4 separate regions of the Homo sapiens genome follow, and all the other regions are linked to region 1. Evidence: promoter capture Hi-C in human tissues and cell types (Jung and others, 2019). All regions are on one chromosome and are shown on one strand. The core of a region is centred on a gene start or on the middle of the fragment in contact, and the rest is flanking DNA. Distances in the headings are between cores, read along the strand shown.

What was found. Contacts are between HindIII fragments. The study calls those that stand out against the background at their distance.
Region 2: a fragment that was not itself captured here is called in contact with the fragment with the promoter of POLD4 in region 1 in 1 of the 25 tissues and cell types used here (dorsolateral prefrontal cortex).
Region 3: a fragment that was not itself captured here is called in contact with the fragment with the promoter of POLD4 in region 1 in 1 of the 25 tissues and cell types used here (lymphoblastoid cells).
Region 4: a fragment that was not itself captured here is called in contact with the fragment with the promoter of POLD4 in region 1 in 1 of the 25 tissues and cell types used here (dorsolateral prefrontal cortex).

The regions. Positions count from the first base shown.
Region 1 is chr11:67,351,294-67,355,618 of GRCh38, reverse strand. It overlaps POLD4 (DNA polymerase delta 4, accessory subunit), which reads left to right and starts at 2,073. Exons shown (of 4, transcript NM_021173.5): 1 at 2,073-2,316; 2 at 2,542-2,631; 3 at 2,817-2,928; 4 at 3,600-4,325. The coding sequence starts at 2,220. The coding sequence ends at 3,624. The region is part of intron 2 of LOC100130987 (a long non-coding RNA gene); the gene reads right to left. RefSeq lists a silencer at 1,756-2,005 and enhancers at 2,186-2,235, 2,229-2,810, 2,811-3,393. The HindIII fragment of the contact is 15,541 bases long and covers 1-4,325 here.
Region 2 is chr11:66,946,232-66,950,472 of GRCh38, reverse strand. The region is part of intron 3 of PC (pyruvate carboxylase); the gene reads left to right. Among named protein-coding and RNA genes, the nearest start is that of PC, 10 kb to the left of the region's middle. The HindIII fragment of the contact is 7,176 bases long and covers 1-4,241 here.
Region 3 is chr11:67,696,855-67,701,333 of GRCh38, reverse strand. No RefSeq gene overlaps it. Among named protein-coding and RNA genes, the nearest start is that of ALDH3B2, 24 kb to the right of the region's middle. The HindIII fragment of the contact is 5,827 bases long and covers 1-4,479 here.
Region 4 is chr11:66,894,756-66,899,496 of GRCh38, reverse strand. The region is part of intron 3 of PC (pyruvate carboxylase); the gene reads left to right. Among named protein-coding and RNA genes, the nearest start is that of MIR3163, 37 kb to the left of the region's middle. The HindIII fragment of the contact is 7,533 bases long and covers 1-4,741 here.

The sequences.
Region 1 (4,325 bases), core at 824-3,323:
CTGCCCAAGGAGAAAAGGCAATAGGCCCAGGCGGTGGTAGGAGCTACTGTGGCTGCCCAGCGGCACACCCCATTTCACGCTCCCTGGGCGGTGGCAGGGCCCCACGGCTATCAGCTTTCAGGGGTGGGAGGGACTGGGAATGAGGAGGGGTCTGCCCCACCCATGGCTCCCTACTCCCTCAGGGCTTGGTGGACTCAGGAGGTGGGTGCCACACACCTCTGGAAACAGCCCAGGAACCCTTGCCAAGACCCTCTGGGGAGGGGTAGTCAATCCCCCAGAGCCTAGACGCCATCCCTACCTAGCATGCTCAGCACCTGACTGGACTCAGCACCTAGGCCCTTCCCAGCCCTGGTAGACAGGGCCTCCCTGCTTCCATCACTAACTCCGCAGGGACACTGTCTCCCTGAATGTGGGCCCCACTTAGTCCGCAAGGCAGATGGGGGGATTAGACTAGGCCCAGCCCAAACAATACAGCAGAAAGGGCCCTCCAGCTCCATGCAGTGCCCCCACAAGCTCCCTCCTCTAGGACGCCGATGGGGAGAGCCAGGCAGGACGTGGACCCTGAAGACATGGCCTGCTCCTCTGCCTCCCCTCTGGTGGTCTCCTTTCCAGAGCAGCTTCCTCCCTTGTGCCCACGTGTACCAGTGGCTTAGCCCTCTTCCAGTGCAGAACACCCAGACCCCAGAGCAGGGAAAGGAGGAGGCAGAGGCCTCTGAGCAGGCAGCAGCCCAGGAGTCTGTGCCCCACCCTCCCAGTATCCCTGGAAGGAAGAACCGGATGGGATCTCTGGAGGGTGATTAGAGCTGGGCTGGTCCCTGTGCTGGTTCCCAGACTCCCACTGGCCAGTACTTTTGCCTCCTGCCAGGAAGTTGGTGAGGGGGAGGCAGCAGTATGGGTGAGTCAGTGATGACAGGAGCCCAAGGGACAAAGGTCATGGGTGGAGAATTGAGAGACATTGTTTACAGCAGTCCACCTCCTCCAGGAGGCCTTCCAATGCTAATCATCCCTGTGGTCCTAACCAATCTCTGACCCACCCTTTCCCTCTTCTGGTAGGAATTATAGCCTCTCACTGACAACTGTGCATCTGTCTGCCTTGTGACAGTGAGCTCCTGGGGTGCAAGAGAGACTGTGGTTTGATTGGGGCCCTACAATGCCTGTGACTATCAGCAGTGATAATCATTTAGCTATACTTCCTACTTTCAAAAACTTTTTGACATCTATTTTAATTAACATGTGGGAAAGTGCTTAGAACAGTACTTGGCACATGGTACGTGCAATGAGTGTTAGGTTTATTATTAATATTTTCTGCTCAGACTCACATTATTGTGAGAGACAGGGCAGATTTTGCCAGTGAAGAACTAGGGATCCAAACACATTGTGGTGGGGGGACCAGACCCTTGCTCTGCCTTCCTACTCAGTATGGAATCTTCCTGACTGGTGGGGCGGGCCGGACACGACTTGGGACCCCAGGAGAGTCAAAACGGCAAACACTTACTCGGACTAAGAGTGGGCAGCATCTTTGGGCACAGACTGTGAGAAAGGAGGTTTCAGAACCCATGGGCTTCTCCAGCCAGGTCTCCTGGGGCCAGTGGGGGTTGGGTGGGAGCCGGGAAGGGGCCTGGATTAGCCCAAACTCTCTTCAGACCTCCAGACCTGCCCCCACAAGGCGGGGCGGGCCAAAGGACCGAGTGAAGGCTCCAGCTGGACTCTAGGGAGTTACAAACTGGCCACGGGGATTAGCGAAGCTGAAAAGAACATTTGCCTAGGAAGGGAAAACGGGAAGTGAGAGGCTGAAGATAACTCTCCTGAAGTCTCTCGGGACCCACAGCAGACCAATGGGGGCCGGGGAAGGTGGTGAAGTCGGGGCATCCCGACAGGTCCCCCGCCCCAGCCTGCCCCTCCTCCCGCGGCCCACAGCTGAGGCACCGCCCCGCCCCTCACCCTACACTGCCTACCATTGGCTAGCGCCAGGGCCCCGCCCCGCATAGGCGGCCTGCCATTGGCTGAAGTCTTTCCTGTTTGCGTGCTTTTGGGGGTGGGGGAGGCGTCCCTCCCTGGACCCCGGCGACTTCCTCTCTCGGTTTGTCTGGGTCATCTTGTCTGCCCGCCGCTGGCCTGGCCCCGTCTGTCTCTCTCAGCAGCTGTCTTTCTCGCGCCCACTGGCCGGTCTCTCCTCTTCCCCGCAGTTGCCTCCTTCTCTGCCTGCCTGGGTGGCCGCCATGGGCCGGAAGCGGCTCATCACTGATTCCTACCCGGTTGTGAAGAGGAGGGAGGGGCCCGCTGGGCACAGCAAGGGGGAGCTGGCACCCGAGCTAGGTCTCTGAGGTGTGAGGGAGGCAGGAGGAGTGGACACGGAGGGGCCTAGAGGAGGCCCCTAGAGGGGCGGAGGGGCCGATGGAAAGGGAAAGGTGGCCTGTCCTCCCCTCCCGACACCAGGTCTAGCTGCGGGGTGGCAGAGGCAAAGCGGTGGTGAGGAAGGCTGGGAGGTGAGGGGCAGGAGACTGAAGCCAACCTCGTACTGAAGAGCAGCTGTCATTGCAGGGGAGGAGCCCCAGCCCCGCGACGAGGAGGAAGCGGAGCTGGAGCTGCTGAGGCAGTTTGACCTGGCCTGGCAGTACGGGCCCTGCACCGGTGAGAACCCACCCAGCCCCACGGAGGCGCCTCTCCCAGCCAGTCACCCACACGTCTCTGAAGTCACCCAAGCGCTTGCGTGACTCTGACCCTCAGGAACTGTCTCCCCCCAACACACACATTCTCCAGCTCAGACTCTACCCCACCCCCCACAAGTCTCCAGAGTCTTCTTCCCACCCTGGCAGGGATCACACGGCTGCAGCGCTGGTGTCGGGCCAAGCAGATGGGCTTGGAGCCTCCCCCAGAGGTGTGGCAGGTGCTGAAGACCCACCCCGGAGACCCCCGCTTCCAGTGCAGGTCAGAGACAGGCCGGGAGGGCTTTCAGGGGAGCCAGGGCCTTCTCCAGGCACTGTCACCCTGCTGTCCTGACCTGAGGGAGAAATGGATGGAGGGTTGGAAGGCCTTGCTGAACAGGCAAGAAGATTCTATGAGGTGCCTGGCTCAGGAGGACACGCCACTATAATAATTCTTTTTTTTTGAGACAGAGTCTTGCTCTGTTGCCCAGGCTGGAGTGCAGTGGCGCGATCTCGGCTCACTGCAAACTCCGCCTCTCGGGTTCACGCCATTCTCCTGTCTCAGCCTCCCAAGTAGCTGGGACTACAGGCGCCCGCCAACACGCCCGGCTAATTTTTTCTATTTTTAGTAGAGACAGGGTTTCACCGTGTTAGCCAGGATGGTCTTGATCTCCTGACCTCGTGATCCCACCCACCTCAGCCTCCCAAAGTGCTGGGATTACAGGCGTGAGCCACCACACCCGGCCAATAATTCTTACCTCTACAAGCTAGTGGGGGGCAAAGGTACACCCAGGACCCAAGGAACTATCTATTTAGAACTGAGGGGTTTCCCAAGGACTATGGGCATGGCCAAGAATAAGCTGGTGAAATCAGATCCAGGGACTCAACAACTGATTCTCTGTTTCTCTCTCTCTCTCTCTGGGGTATCCCTCCCTCCCACCCCATCTTCCACAGTCTCTGGCATCTCTATCCCCTATGAGGCACCACGTAAGACCTCCTGCCCTTAGCTCTCTTGCTCACCACCCAAGAACCTCAGGACAGAAGCGAGAGCCCATTGCTCCTGCTCAGCTCAGCCCGGCTGCGGAGGAACCCTTGGCAGGCAGAACCTGGAGGTGTCAGAGGCTCAACTCCTCCATCTAACCAGCAGGCTCCCAGAGTCCCCGGAAGAGCCTGCGCAGCTGAAGCAGAGTGCTTCTAGATGGAGAGTGGTCACTGGGGAAAAGGACCTGGCCATCACCTTCCAATACCTGCTGCCTGTCTCCCTGACCCATGATCTGGCAAGTTAGGCACAGTCAGACATGGACAGTTGATCCATGAGGAAAAGATGCTCTCCCACCTAAGGCCAGGAATCTGAGAGCAGGACTGGCTGAGCTCCCAGGGCAAGGGGTTCACTAATGCTTATCAATAAAGAATATTGAGCCTGGAATCCTGACCTTCAGTCCTTTACTGTGGCCCTGCTTTGACTGGCAGTCCCTAGCAAGTTAGGAGATGAGAGAGGCACCACTACAGCTCTTTTCCTTCAAGAAAGTCCTAGGCCGAAGAGGGAGGAGACAGTCATCTTGAGACGGATCAAGTCCTCGGAAGAGCTGAGCGACCTCTGGTGCCCCCTGGTGGCCCACAGGGAAACTACTCATGACTCACCTTCTGGAGCAGCCAGGGAAAACCTACCTGACTAGCCAG
Region 2 (4,241 bases), core at 332-2,831, 400 kb after region 1:
TTACCCCAGGTACTCCCAGCACTACCTCGGGTTTCCTACTCTTGTGTTACCTCCTTGTCCTGATATGCCTCGAGGCCAGAGAAAGAGGTGGGGCCGGGAGGGCACGGGACAGCTGGGAGTACATTTCCACTGCCTGTGTGTGGAAGGGCCTGACTGCTTCTGTGGCAGCTCCTTTCCTGATGACATCCACCATGACATCACAACGAGGCTTTGGGAAAATTCCACGACCTGGCCATGCTGAGTCATACTTAGTCTCTGGGGATGTGTGTCACCTTTCTCTTGTCTGTCACTGAGTGCTGCAGTTACTATGAAGTGACACATGCTGCCCATTTATTACGTTTGCACATCACTTTATGCTGCTTTGGAGCCTCTTCTCATGTACATGCTGTGTATCAATGTGAAATGTATTAATATTAAATCATTAATAATAAGTATATTATTTATTCTGGAAAATATTTGTCTCTTGCAATGTGTGAGGAACCAGAGGTTCAGAGAGACTAGAGACTAAGCGACTTGGTGAGTTTCGGGTGACTGGTGCGTGGCATGTCTGAGGGAGGTTTGGATGCCACACCCACTCCTACCCCTGGATTTTTATGTAATGCAAAGATTATTCAGAAATTACTTTGGTCGAAAACAATTGATTTTCAATTTGTTAAAATTATGAATTCAGAAACCTAGTTATTTTAAGGGCCAGTCTTTTAAGTTTAGCTTATAAGTGTAGCCTATAAATCTTTCTGATCTATTTACGATTCTAGGACATTTTAACAGTCACTTTCAGGGGGCTTTTATTTATTTATTTTTTTTGCGATGGAGTCTCGCTCTGTCGCGATCTCGGCTCACTGCAACCTCCGCCTCCTGGTTCAAGCGATTCTTCTGCCTCAGCCTCCTGAGTAGCTGGGATTACAGGCGCCCGCCACCATGCTGGCTAATTTGTATTTTTAGTAGAGGCGGGGTTTCTTCATGTTGGTCAGGCTGGTCTCGAACTCCTGACTCAAGTGATCTGCCCGCCTCGGCCTCCCAAAGTGCTGGGATTACAGGCGTGAGCCGCCGCCCCGGCCTTAGGGGGCTTTTTGATTAATGCTTGGTCCCATTTGCAAATTTGATGAAACTTCTGAAATGTTTCAATTGAACTTATAAATCATATTCAACTTCAGTTAACTATTTTAATAATTCTTCTGGCCGGGCATGGTGGGTGGCTCACGCCTGTAATCCTAGCACTTTGGGAGGCCAAGGCGGGCAGATCACGAGGTCAAGAGATTGAGACCATCCTGGCCAACATGGTGAAACCCTGTCGCTACTAAAAATACAAAAATTAGCTGGGTGTGGTGGTCACGCGCCTGTAATCCCAGCTACTTGGGAGGCTGAGGCAGGAGAATCGCTTGAACCCGGGAGGCGGAGGTTGCAGTGAGCTGAGATTATGCCACTGCACTCCAGCCTGGCGACACAGCAAGACTCCATCTCAAAAAAATAATAATAATAATAAATAATAATAATAATTCTTCCATTTTTCTGATTAAAAAAACCCTCTAATACCTAAATGACTCTTGTAAATCTAATAAATGAAGCTGAATATTACACTTTTCTTAAACTTTCCTATACCGTTTTATGTTTTGTTTGTTTATTTTTGTTTATTTTGAGACGGTCTGATTCTGTCACTCAGGCTGGAGTACAGTGGCACAGTCTCAGCTCACTGCAACCTCTACCTCCTAGGCTCAGGTGATCTTCCCTTTTCAGACTCCTGAGTAGCTGGGACTACAGGTTCAAGCCACCACACCCGGCTAATTTTTGTACTTTTTGTGGAGACGGGGTTTCACCACATTGCCCAGGCTCATCTCGAACTCCTGAGCTCAAGCAATCAGCCCGCCTTGGCCTCCCAAAGTGCTGGGATTACAGGCGTGATACATTTTAGTTTTTACAATAGCTTTATTGGAGTATTACTGAGATATAATAAGTTGCACATATTTAAAGTATACAGTTTAGTAAGTTTTAACATATGTGTACCCTTGTGAAACCATCACTGCAGTCCAGAGAGTGAACACATTCATCACCTTTGGAATTCCTCCCTCTGCCTCCTCACTCTTCAGGAAACCATGGAACTGCTTTCTGTTACTATAGGTTAGTTTCCATTTTCTGGAATTTCACATAAATTGACTCATACAGTATATATTCTTTTTTCTCTGCCTTCTTTTACTCAGCATAATTATGTTGAGATATGTCCATGTTGTTGCTTGTATTGATAGTTCATTTCCTTCTTTTTTTTTTTTTTAAGACAGAGTCTTGCTCTGTCACCCAAGCTGGAATATAGCGGCGTGATCATAGCTCACTGCAGCCTTGATCTTCTGGGCTCAAGTGATCTCCCATCTCACTGAGTAGCTGGAACTACAGGTGTGTGCCACTACGCCTGGCATATCTATCTATCTATCTATCTATCTATCTATCTATCTATCTATCTATCTATCTTTAGTAGAGATGAGATCTCGGTATGTTGCTTAGGCTTTTTTTTTTTTTTTGAGACGGAATCTCACTCTGTCGCCCAGGCTGGAGTGCAGTGGCATGATCTCGGCTCACTGCAACCTCTGCCTCCCGGGTTCAAGCGATTCTTCTGCCTTAGCCTCCCAAGTAGCTGGGACTAGAGGCGCCCACCACCACGCCCAGCTAATTTTTGTATTTTTAGTAGAGAGGGGGTTTCACCATGTTGGCCAGGCTGGTCTCGACTCCTGACCTCAAATGATCCACCCCACCTCAGCCTCGAAAAGTGTTGGGATTACCTGCGTGAGCTACCGCACCTGGCCCTTAGGCTTGTCTTGAACTCCTGAACTCAAGCAGTCCTTCCCACTTTCCACCTTGGCCTCCCAAAGTGCTGGGGTTACAGGCATGAGCCACTGTTCCTGGTCAGTTCTTTTTTTTTTTTTGAGACTGAGTCTTGCTCTGTCGCACAGGCTGGAGTGCAGTGGCACGATCTCGGCTCACTGCAAGCTCCGCCTCAACCTCCCGAGTAGCTGGGACTACAGGCACCCACCACCACACCCAGCTAATTTTGTTTTTGTATTTTTAGTAGAGACGGGGTTTCACTGTGTTAGCCAGAATGGTCTTGATCTCCTGACCTTGTGATCCTCCCGCCTCGGCCTCCCAAAGTGCTGGAATTACAGGCATGAGCCACCGCACCCAGCTTTTTTTTTTTGCTGATTTCATTATATGGGTATTACAGTTTATCCAGTCACCTTTGTTGGTCATCTCAGGTGCTTCTACTTTTTGGCATCTACAAATAAAGCTACTGTGAACATTTGTGTATAAGTCTTTGTGTGAACATATATTTCCTTTTCTCTTGGGTAAATGCCTAGGAGTGGAGTGGCTGGATCCTGTGGTAGCTGTATGTATGTTTAACTTGAACTGCCAAATTTTCTGACGTGGTTGTAGTATTTTACATTCCTACCAGCTGTGTATGAGAGTTCCAGTTTCTCTTCATCCTCCCCAACACTGGCTATGGTTAGTCTTTTAAATTTTAGCCATTTAAAAAGGTATATGGTGGTATCTCATGGTTTCAATTTGAATTTTCCTAATGATAATGATGTTGAGCATCTTGTCATGTGTTTGTCATCTGCCAGTACTGATTTTAAACTTAGTAAAATTTCTATGTAAAATCACACGTCTAAACTAACTACTCAGTTACATGTTTTTTGTTTTGAGACAGGGTCTTGCTCTGTGCCCCAGGCTGGCTTGCACTGATGCGATCGTGGCTCACTGCAGCCTCGACCTCCCATGCTCAAGCGATCCTCCCATCTCAGCCTCTTGAGTAGCTGGGACCATGGCATGCACGTCATGCCTGGCTGATTTAAAAAAAATTTTTTTTTTGAGATGGAGTCTCACTCTGTTGCCCAGGCTGGAATGCGGTTTCATGATCTTGGCCTACTTGCAACCTCCGCCTGCTGGGTTCAAGCAATTCTTCTGCCTCAGCCTCCCGAGTAGCTGGGATTACAGGCGTGGCCCAGCTAATTTTTGTATTTTTAGTAGAGACGGGGTTTCACCATATTGGCCAGGCTGATCTCGAACTCCCGACCTTGTGATCTGCCCGCCTTGGTCTCCCAAAGTGCTGGGATTACAGGCATGAGCCACTGCACCTGGCCTTTTAAAAAATTTTCTTTGTAGAGGTGGGATTTCACTGTGTTGCCAGGGCTGGTCTCAAACTGCTATCATGCGATCCACCTGCCTCAGCCTCCCAAAATCATGTGGTTACAGATGTG
Region 3 (4,479 bases), core at 1,256-3,755, 350 kb before region 1:
AAAAGCGGCTTGAACTTCGAGCTGATTTAAAGGAACCATAGTTAAATTTGGATCAAATCCAGAAATTTTAAGTATTTGACACCGAGCTTGTCCAATTACAGATTTTTCAACAGCATCTTGTAATTTAGCCAAAAAATTAGGATATAATTTATTGTGACCCTGTTTAACAGTAGTAAAAGAAACAGGAGCTTGGCAGGAGTGTGTAATTTATCCCAAGCTCTTACACACACCTTTGTTACTTGATCCGTGGTGACAGCATCAAAGCCTAATTGGGTGGTATTGTCAGAGTAATTATTGGAGCCTGTGAGCTGAGCCTGAGTAATTGGAATGCCATCAGCCTGATTTAGCTGAGCCTGCAGATGGGCCTCCTCTGACCACCAAGTACAGAATTTTAATGCTGAGATGGAGTTAGAACAGCTTTTGCCAAAAGGTCCCAGTCTAAAGGAAGCAAAATGACCTCAGTACAAAGAGTCTGTAATACCTTTTAACATAAGGAGAAGCAGGATCATACTGAGTACAAGCATCCTTGAATTTTTTTAAAAAGGTAAGATTGAGCAGCGCATATTGACGCACTTGTACCCCTTGAGCATTGGCAGGTTCCAGCGCGACCGGATAAGCCCACGCCTCTAATCCACTTGTTTCTTTGTTCTGGCATAATAAGTGTTGCATGGAAGTTTCAAGAACAGGCACATGAGACGGAGTCAGCATAGAAGTGACAGGAAAAGTATGTGTAGATAAGGGAAACTGAGGTTGAGGAGGTCGGGCCAGTATGAGAGCACGAGAAAGGGGCATTGGGGGAGCAGAAGGGGCAGAAGCTGGTGATTATTGCCCAATCCTGTGCAACCAGAGTGGCAGGGGTGTCCATGCTTGAAGAAGGGTACAGAGAAGCAGTTTGAGTGGATGGCAAAGTGACCGGTTGAGGGACCGAAATGACAGGAGGGTGAGGGGCTGTGGTGGACGGGGGAGGGTCTGCAGAATTACAGATAAATTGTAGTTTGGTCCCAGAGCCATTAGATGGCTCCGGAGGCAAAGGCTGCAAAGGTTTGAAGAGGGAAGATAGCATAGATATGGTCTCGGGCTGTCCAAGTCGGGGCCGCGGGAGCTACAAGTACCAGCAATTCGTGAAAAGAAATAAAATCATCAGGGGGTGACATTAAGCCAAAGTCACCGGAGTTAGATATTGAATCCTCAACATTCTCAGGTTGGGGAGGAGTAGGTGAAGGGAGAAGCTGAGCAGATAACAAAGGCCGAGTGGGAGAGGAAAGCTGAGGAAGAGGTAGAGGGTCTCCAGATTCAGAAAACTGTGGTAACTGCAGGGGGTCACAGGATTGGTATGTCATTAGGATGGCACGTACCAAGGCCCAATCACCCCAAACAGTGACGGGAGCATAATTTCCTGTTGGGACCGGTTCCCGGAATTTTGCACCAACACAATCCCAAAGTTCCACATCTAACGTTCCCTTTTGAGGAAACCAAGGACAGTGTTCTTCCACCGCCCTGAAATGGGTGACCATATTTTCCATGGGTACCCAAACTCCTCCCTGTTTTAACAGGAGTTTAATATAGCAGAGATAAGCATAATGTTTAGATTCTGCATGACTCATAGTTACCCCGGACAATACACAGACAACTCACCAGTTGTCAGGGAGCCGAACAAGGGTTTCTGTGGACCGGACCGATGAACGTTTCTACATACCTACCAAAGGGAATCGGGTTCCCACATGCACTTAGGAAAAAGAAAACCACGTTGGTGTGCCAGATATTGGGGGAACCCACCCCCAATATTTCAATGTAGGTTCTTTCTATTTTCCATAAGTGTCGGCTGGCTGAGAAATAGAGAGACAGTATAAAGAGAGGAATTTTACAGCTAGGCTGCCGGGGTGACATCACATATCAGTAGGACCATGAGGCCTGCCTGATCCTCAAAACCAGCAAGTTTTTCTTAAGGGTTTCAAAAGGGGAGGGGGTGTGAGAACAGGGAGTAAGTACAAAGATCACATGCTTCAAAGGGCAAAAAGCAGAACCACTAATAAGGGTCTAACAAAGATCACAAGGCAAAGGGCAAAAGCAGAACTACTGATAAGGGTCTATGTTCAGCAGTGCATATATTGTCTTGATAGACATCTTAAACAACAGAAAAGAGGGTTCAAGAGCAGAGAACCAGTCTGACCACAAATTTACCAGGGCAGAGTTTTTCCCCACCCTGGTAAGCCTGAGGGTACTGCAGGAGACCAGAGCATATCTCAGTCCTTATCTCAACTGCACAAGACAGACATTCCCAGAGCGGTTATTATAGACCTCCCCCAAGGAATGCATTCCTTTCCCAGGATATTAATCTTAATATTCCTTGCTAGGAAAAGAATTTAGCAATATGTTTCCTACTTGCATGTCCGTTTATAGGCTCTCTGCAAGAAGAAAATATGGCTCTTTTTGCCTGACCCCACAGGCAGTCAGACCTTATGGTTGTCTTCCCTTGTTCCCTAAAAATCACTGTTATTCTGTTCTTTTTCAAGGTGCACTGATTTCATATTGTTCAAACACACATGTTTTACAATCAATTTGTACAGTTAACACAATTATCACAGTGGTCCTGAGGTGATGTACATCCTAGCTTATGAAGATAACAGGATTAAGAGATTAAAGTAAAGACAGGCATAAGAAATTATAAAAGTATTATTTGGGAACTGATAAATGTCCATATTAAAATGAAATCTTCACAATTTATGTTCCTATGGCACGGCTCCAGCTGGTCACTCCGTTCAGGGTCCCTGATTTCCTGCAACAGCAACTCTGTTCAGAAGAGGGCAGGACAGACAGTGGCAGGCCTCATCAGAACCCGAAGGCCATGCAGAACCTTCTCATGACAGCCTCCTGGGGGAGACAGGGAGCCAACGGGAGTGGTAGCAGCTCCTACAGGCCTCCCACTCTCTGGAGGATCACAAAGTGTCCTGTCATGACTCAGATGAGCCTCAGTTTGAGCTTTCGCCTCTGTAGCCTGTGTGGATATGTTCAGGGCCACCAGGGTGCCATGGTGGAGCCGTTCCCTACACAGCCTGGAGGGCTTGTGTGAAGTGGCTGTTTATAATGAGCAGACTTAGGAGAAATTGAATAAAGAGGTTTTCATGAAATGTGTAAGTGGGAATATGTTGCCTCAAAAATCCAAGTAGCCCCAACAAACGTTATTAGAAAGCCTGTCTTAGTCTGCAAATTAACACCACAAATTGGACAACTGATAAAAGAAATTTATTTCTCCCAGTTTTGGAGGCTGGGAAGTCCAAGAGCATGGTGCTGGCTTTGGGCAAGGGTCATCTTGTGGCAGAAGGGTGTAAGGCAGAAGCAAGCATGTGAGACAGGGAGGAAATCAGGCCGACCTCACTTTTATAACACACCCAGTCTCGTGATCACTAACCTACTCCTGCCATAACAGGATTAATTAATTCATGGGGGCAGAGCCTTCATGACCTAATCGCCTATGGAGGGTCCCCTCCACGACATTGTTACAATGGCAATTACATTTCCTTTTTTGTTTGTTTGAGATGAGTCTCTCCTCCCAGTTTGCCAGTAAAGCTCCTCTTTCGACTGTGTAGCCGTCCTGGTGGTCTTTTGGATGACAGTTAGGACAATTTTTTTCCTTGACCTGAGTCATTTTATCTTCACCTTTTGTAATTAGGGATATTTTAGGGGGGGGGTTTATTTAATTTTTTTCTCCAGGGAGTCTCAGTGTGCATGACCATGTCACGGCAGTGAGGACAGCAGCAGTAATGTACCTGCTTGCCGAGCCCTGAGGAACCTCTGCCATGGGAATCCTGGGGCTCTGAACACCACATAAATTCTTGTTCAAACAGTGGCCCCCGCGGGGAGTTCTTGCCTTTTTACGTGCAGCGTTTGGGAAATGTGGGGCCAGCTTCTGGCTGAGACATATAACCATTCCCTCCAATGAATGATGCTACCAACTACTAGGGTCCAGTCTGGGGTCAGGATTCACTTTATGTCTGGCTCCTCAGCCCCCTTTCCCCATCATTACCTCTGGCTTAAGCTGCTACTTTTAAAGCAGATGCTTGGAAAATCCCAGGAGAACCACCCTAAAGTGATGTGGCCCAGAGCACAGGCGTGCCAGCAATCGGCCAAGACGGTCCAGGCCAGTCTGAGCCCACTACCTGTGGTATGGACCTGGTGAGTAAGCCAAGAGTGAGAGAAGAAACACATGCTATGTAGGATCGGCATCCAGCCCTCCGGTTCCCAGCATAAATTGTGTGATTTGGGTGCCTGGCATCCCTGCCGGACACTGGGCGGCCCCCACCCAGGGATTTGTGGATACTGGGATGAAAGACATTGGCACCAATGGACATGACATCAAATTTATCACTCACATAATAAACAGCAAGAGGAGAAACAGCCCTTCCTCCCACAGGAGGGCTCAAGGTTGGTCTGGAGCAGAATAAGCTGTGTGGGGAGGGAAGAAGTGGCCTCAGGTTTCTG
Region 4 (4,741 bases), core at 1,984-4,483, 460 kb after region 1:
GATGGCTTCAGGAGCCCAGGAGTTTGAGGCTGCAGTGAACTATGGTCGTGCCACTGCCCTCCAGCCTGGGCGACAGAGTGAGACTCTGTCAAGTAAAATCAATAATATTATGGGACCACCATCGTATATGCATTTCATCATTGACTGCAACATCGTGTGGCACATACCTGTAGTCATATGATGGGATATTATTTAGCCATACAAAGAAGTGAAGTACTGGCACACACCACAACACGGATGAACCTTGAGAGCAATATGCTAAGTGAAAGAAGCCAGACCCAAAACCCACATAATTTATGATTCTGTTGATATGAAATGTCCAGAATTGGCTGGGCACGGTGGCTCACCCCTGTAATCCCAGCACTTTGGGAGGCCAAGGCAGGTGGATCACTTGAGGTCGGGAGTTCAAGACCAGCCTGACCAATATGGAGAAACCCCGTCTCTACTAAAAATACAAAATTAGCCGGGCATGGTGGCGCATGCCTGTAATCCCAGCTACTCAGGAGGCTGAGGCAGGAGAATCGCTTGAACCCGGGAGGCAGAGGTTGTGGTGAGCCAAGATCGTTGCCATAGCACTCCAGCCCGGGCAACAAGAGCGAAACTCCATCTTAAAAAAGAAAAGAAAAGAAATGTCCAGAATAGGCAAATCCATAGAGACTGAGAGTAGATGAGTGGTTGCCAAGGGCTGAGGGAGCTAAGGGGGTTGGAGCATGACAGCTAGGGGATAGGAAATGTTCTAAAAGCGGATTATGGCGGTAGATGCACATATCTGTGAATATATTTAAAAAGCCATTGAATTGCACTTTATTTGTTTCTTGAGACAGAGTCTTGCTCTGTCGCCCAGGCTGGAATGCAGTGGCGCAATCTCGGCTTACTGCGACCTCCACCTCCTGGGTTCAAGCGATTCTCCTGTCTCAGCCTCCTAAGTATCTGGGATTACAGGTGCCTGCCACCACGCCCAGCGAATTTTTGTATTTTTAGTAGAGATGGGGTTTTGCCATGTTGGCCAGGCTGGTCTTAAACTCCTGACTTCAAGTGATCTGCCCACCTCAGCCTTCCAAAGTGCTGGGATTATAGGTGTGAGCCACTACACCCGGCCATTGAATTGCACTTTATGTGTCTCATCTATATGGTATGTGAATTGTATCTCAGTAAAGCTGTTAAAAAACAAAACCCTGGCCCTGAAGGGCAGCGCAGTCGGCTAAAAGACTGTGATTTAATGAGGAAACTTTCCCACCGGGCTGTGACCGCTGGCCCTGGCTCCCTTTGGCCGGGTGGAGGTGCTGTCTGCCACTGAGGGCCCTCAGCTGCTTTTTCAGGATCTCAGAACATGGGAGGACCCCAGCTCCAGAAGAAAATCTTAATTCCAGTTTAATCTTAATTCCAATTTAATTTGGTTGAGTTAAACATTTTTGGAACTGTACTGTGAGCTAGGCACCAGGCTAGCTGCTCTCATGAAAAAACAGGGGCCCTGGAGCTGGGCAGCCTTAATTATTCTTGAGTTTGCTACTTCCTGTGGGTCCTTCCCAGCCTCAATTTTCTTTTCAGTAAAATGAGGGTTGATAATACCCCATGAGATTGTGGTGACAATTCAGTGGGCTAAAAGGAAGATGCCTGGAATATTGTAGGCAGAAAATGAAAGTTTCTTTCCAGTGCTCCTGGAGCAAGTTATCTCTACCAAGTGGACATAACAAAGATGAGTTAGTTATGTCTGCCCCCGTAGAGCTCAAGGCTGGATACATGACCTGTACTCGCTAACCAGGGCCTGGGGAGAAGCAGGCCAGGAGGAGGGTCCCTGTCTTACTCTGGTCCTGGGTTGGGAACCGGGGAAGGCTTCCTCAGGGAGGGGGCAATGAAGTGAGGCTTTGAAGGAGGATAGCTTTTCGCATGTTGTATTTTATTCGCTTTTTGTTTATTTATTTTTTGTAGGCAGGTCTCTCTCTGTCGCCCAGGCTGGAGTGCAGTGGCATAATCTCTGCTTACTGCAACCTCTGCCTCCCGGGTTTAAGCAATTCTCCTGCTTCAGCCTCCCGAGTAACTGGGACTACAGGTGTGTGCCACCACATCCAGATAATTTATTATATTTTTAGTAGAAACGGGGTTTTGCCATGTTGGCCAGACTGGTGACGAACTCTTGGCCTCAGGTAATCTGCCTGCTTCGGCCTCCCAAAGTGCTGGGATTATAGGTGTGAGCCACTGCACCCCGACTTAGTCACTTTTTGAATAGATAATCAAGTACATGGTGCCAATTCAAAAGGGTCAAGGCTGGGCGCGGTGGCTCATGCCTGTAATTCCAGCACTTTGGGACGCCTAGGCAGGTGGATCACCTGAGGTCAGGAGCTCGAGACCAGCCTGGCCAACATGGTGAAACCCCATCTCTACTAAAAATACAAAAAAATCAGCCAGGCATGGTGGTGCGCGCCTGTAATCCCAGCTACTCTGGAGGCTGAGGCATGAGAATCTCTTGAATCCCGGGGGCAGAGGTTGCAGTGAGCCGAGATTGCACCACTGCACTCCAGCCTGGGCGACAAGAGTGAGACTCCATCTCAAAAAACAAACAAACAAACAAACAAAAAACAAAAGGATCAGCAGTGAAAGAGAAACCTTTCCCAGAGGCAGCCACTGTTACCAGCTCCTGAAGTGTCATTCTAGAAATACTCTATGTTTATGAGTGTATGTGCGTATATATAGGCGGACGCTTCTCATCTAGGCAGATTTTCACAGCATCCACATTGTGGTCCGTGGGGATCAGGGGCCTCCTGCTAAGGTGTGGGTTAGGCTTCAGGTGTTATGTTCTTGCTGCTTTCGTGTCTTGCGGTCAGGTTCGGCATAGGCCCTCTCATCAGTAAGAGTGAGGCTTCATTTTCCTTTAGTTCCCCTTGAAGGGAGCCAGCGGCGCTGTCCATCCTCCTTGCCCCTCTGCTCCCTTGGCGTGCCCTCTCCCAGGGATTTCCTCTGTCTTTCTCCTTTGTTCCCCGCTCCTCTTTCTCGTTTGCTTGCTCCCTTGTTTGGGTGCAGCATATTGACAGCAGCTTCCTAACAAAGACCTTTGCCTTTTCTTGTTATTTTACTTTCATACATGGTTGATAGTTTAGCTGGATAGAGAATTTCAGGTTGGGGCCAGGAGCCATGGCTCATGCCTGTAATCCCAGCACTTTGGGAGGCCGAGGCAGGTGGATCACTTGAGGCCAGGAGTTCAAGACCATCTTGGCCAACATGGTGAAACCCCATCCCTACTGAAAATACAAAAATTAGCTAGGCATGGTGGCACATGTCTGTAATCCCAGCTACTCGAGAGGCTGAGGCAGAGGATTGCTTGAACCCAAGAGGTGGAGGTTGCAGTGAGCTGAGATTGTGCCACTGCACTCCAGACTGGATGACAGAGCCAGACTGTCTCCGGAAAGAAAAAAAAAAGAGAATTTCAGGTTGGAAACAATTTTTCCTTGACAAGTTTGAAGGATTGCTTTGCACTTTTCTAACTTCTGAAACTGCTAAGAAGTCCAAAACCTTTCTGATTTCTGATACTTTTGTCTTTTTTTTCTTTTTACCCTCCTTTGGGAAAGCTTACAGGATCTGAAATTGGACACAGTGCCTTGGTGTAGGCCTGTGTTCATCTGTTTCGTGAGGCTCTCAGCAAGTCCTTCCAGTGTGGAAACTCATGTCCTATCCTGGGAGTTTCTTGAAACATTCCTTTTCTTGCCCTCTGTTTTTTACTGTTCTGTCTTTCTGAAACTCCTATTATTTAGTTTTTGGATCTCTTGGACTGACCCTCTAATTTTTTTCCCTTTTTCACCTATTTTCCATCTCTTTGTCTCTTTTCTTCAGTTTCTAGAAGATTTCCTTTTATCTTTCAACCTTTCTATTGCTTTGTCTTATTGTATTTTTTAATTTCCAAGAGCTTTTTTGCTCCCCAAATGGTTCTTTAAAAATGTGTGTAGCATCCTATGTTTTCACTGATGTAATCGTTTCTTATTTCTGTGAGAATGTGAATGCCATGTTTGTCTCTAAGTTTTCTTCTCCCTGCATAGTTGGTTTCCTCCAAATTGCTTTCTCTGCTCTTTCCTTTGGTCTCCATCCTCTTTGAATGAATCTGCCCAGGGACCTTTGGTTGCCCACTCATAATTATTAGGAGGGTCTAAAATGCTGCCTGGGAGCTGGAGCAGGTGGGGGTCCAGTTCTGAGTTTACCAGTACATGATCTGGGCAGGCTGTTTGTTGGGGAACCTCAGTGTCAACACCTGGGAGCTCAGTTGGGGAAGGGGGTAGCATGCAAAGAGTCACGTAACCTGCCACCCCCATTTTTGGCAAGGTCCCCAGGCCCTCAACTGTGCCTCGAATTTCCCAGTCCAGAGACCCCACACTTTTCCCTCCCCAGAAAGTAAACCTCTGTTCTTCCAGGGCTGGAGAGGGGAGGTCTCTGGCATGAGATGGGGGAGGTAGGGGTCTAACTGCTATTTTTTTTTTTTTTTTTCCTGAGACGGAGTTTTAACTCTTGTCACCCAGGCTGGAGTGCAATGGCACAATCTCGGCTCACTTCAGCTTCCGCCTCCTGGGTTCAAGTGATTCTCCTGCCTCAGCGTCCTGAGTAGCTGGGACTACAGGTGCATGCCACCACGCCCAACTGATTTTTGTATTTTTAGTAGATACGGGGTTTCACCATGTTGGCCAGGCTGGTCTCGAACTCCTGACCTCAGGTGATCCACCCGCCTTGGCCTCCCAAAGTGTTGGCATTACAGGTGCGA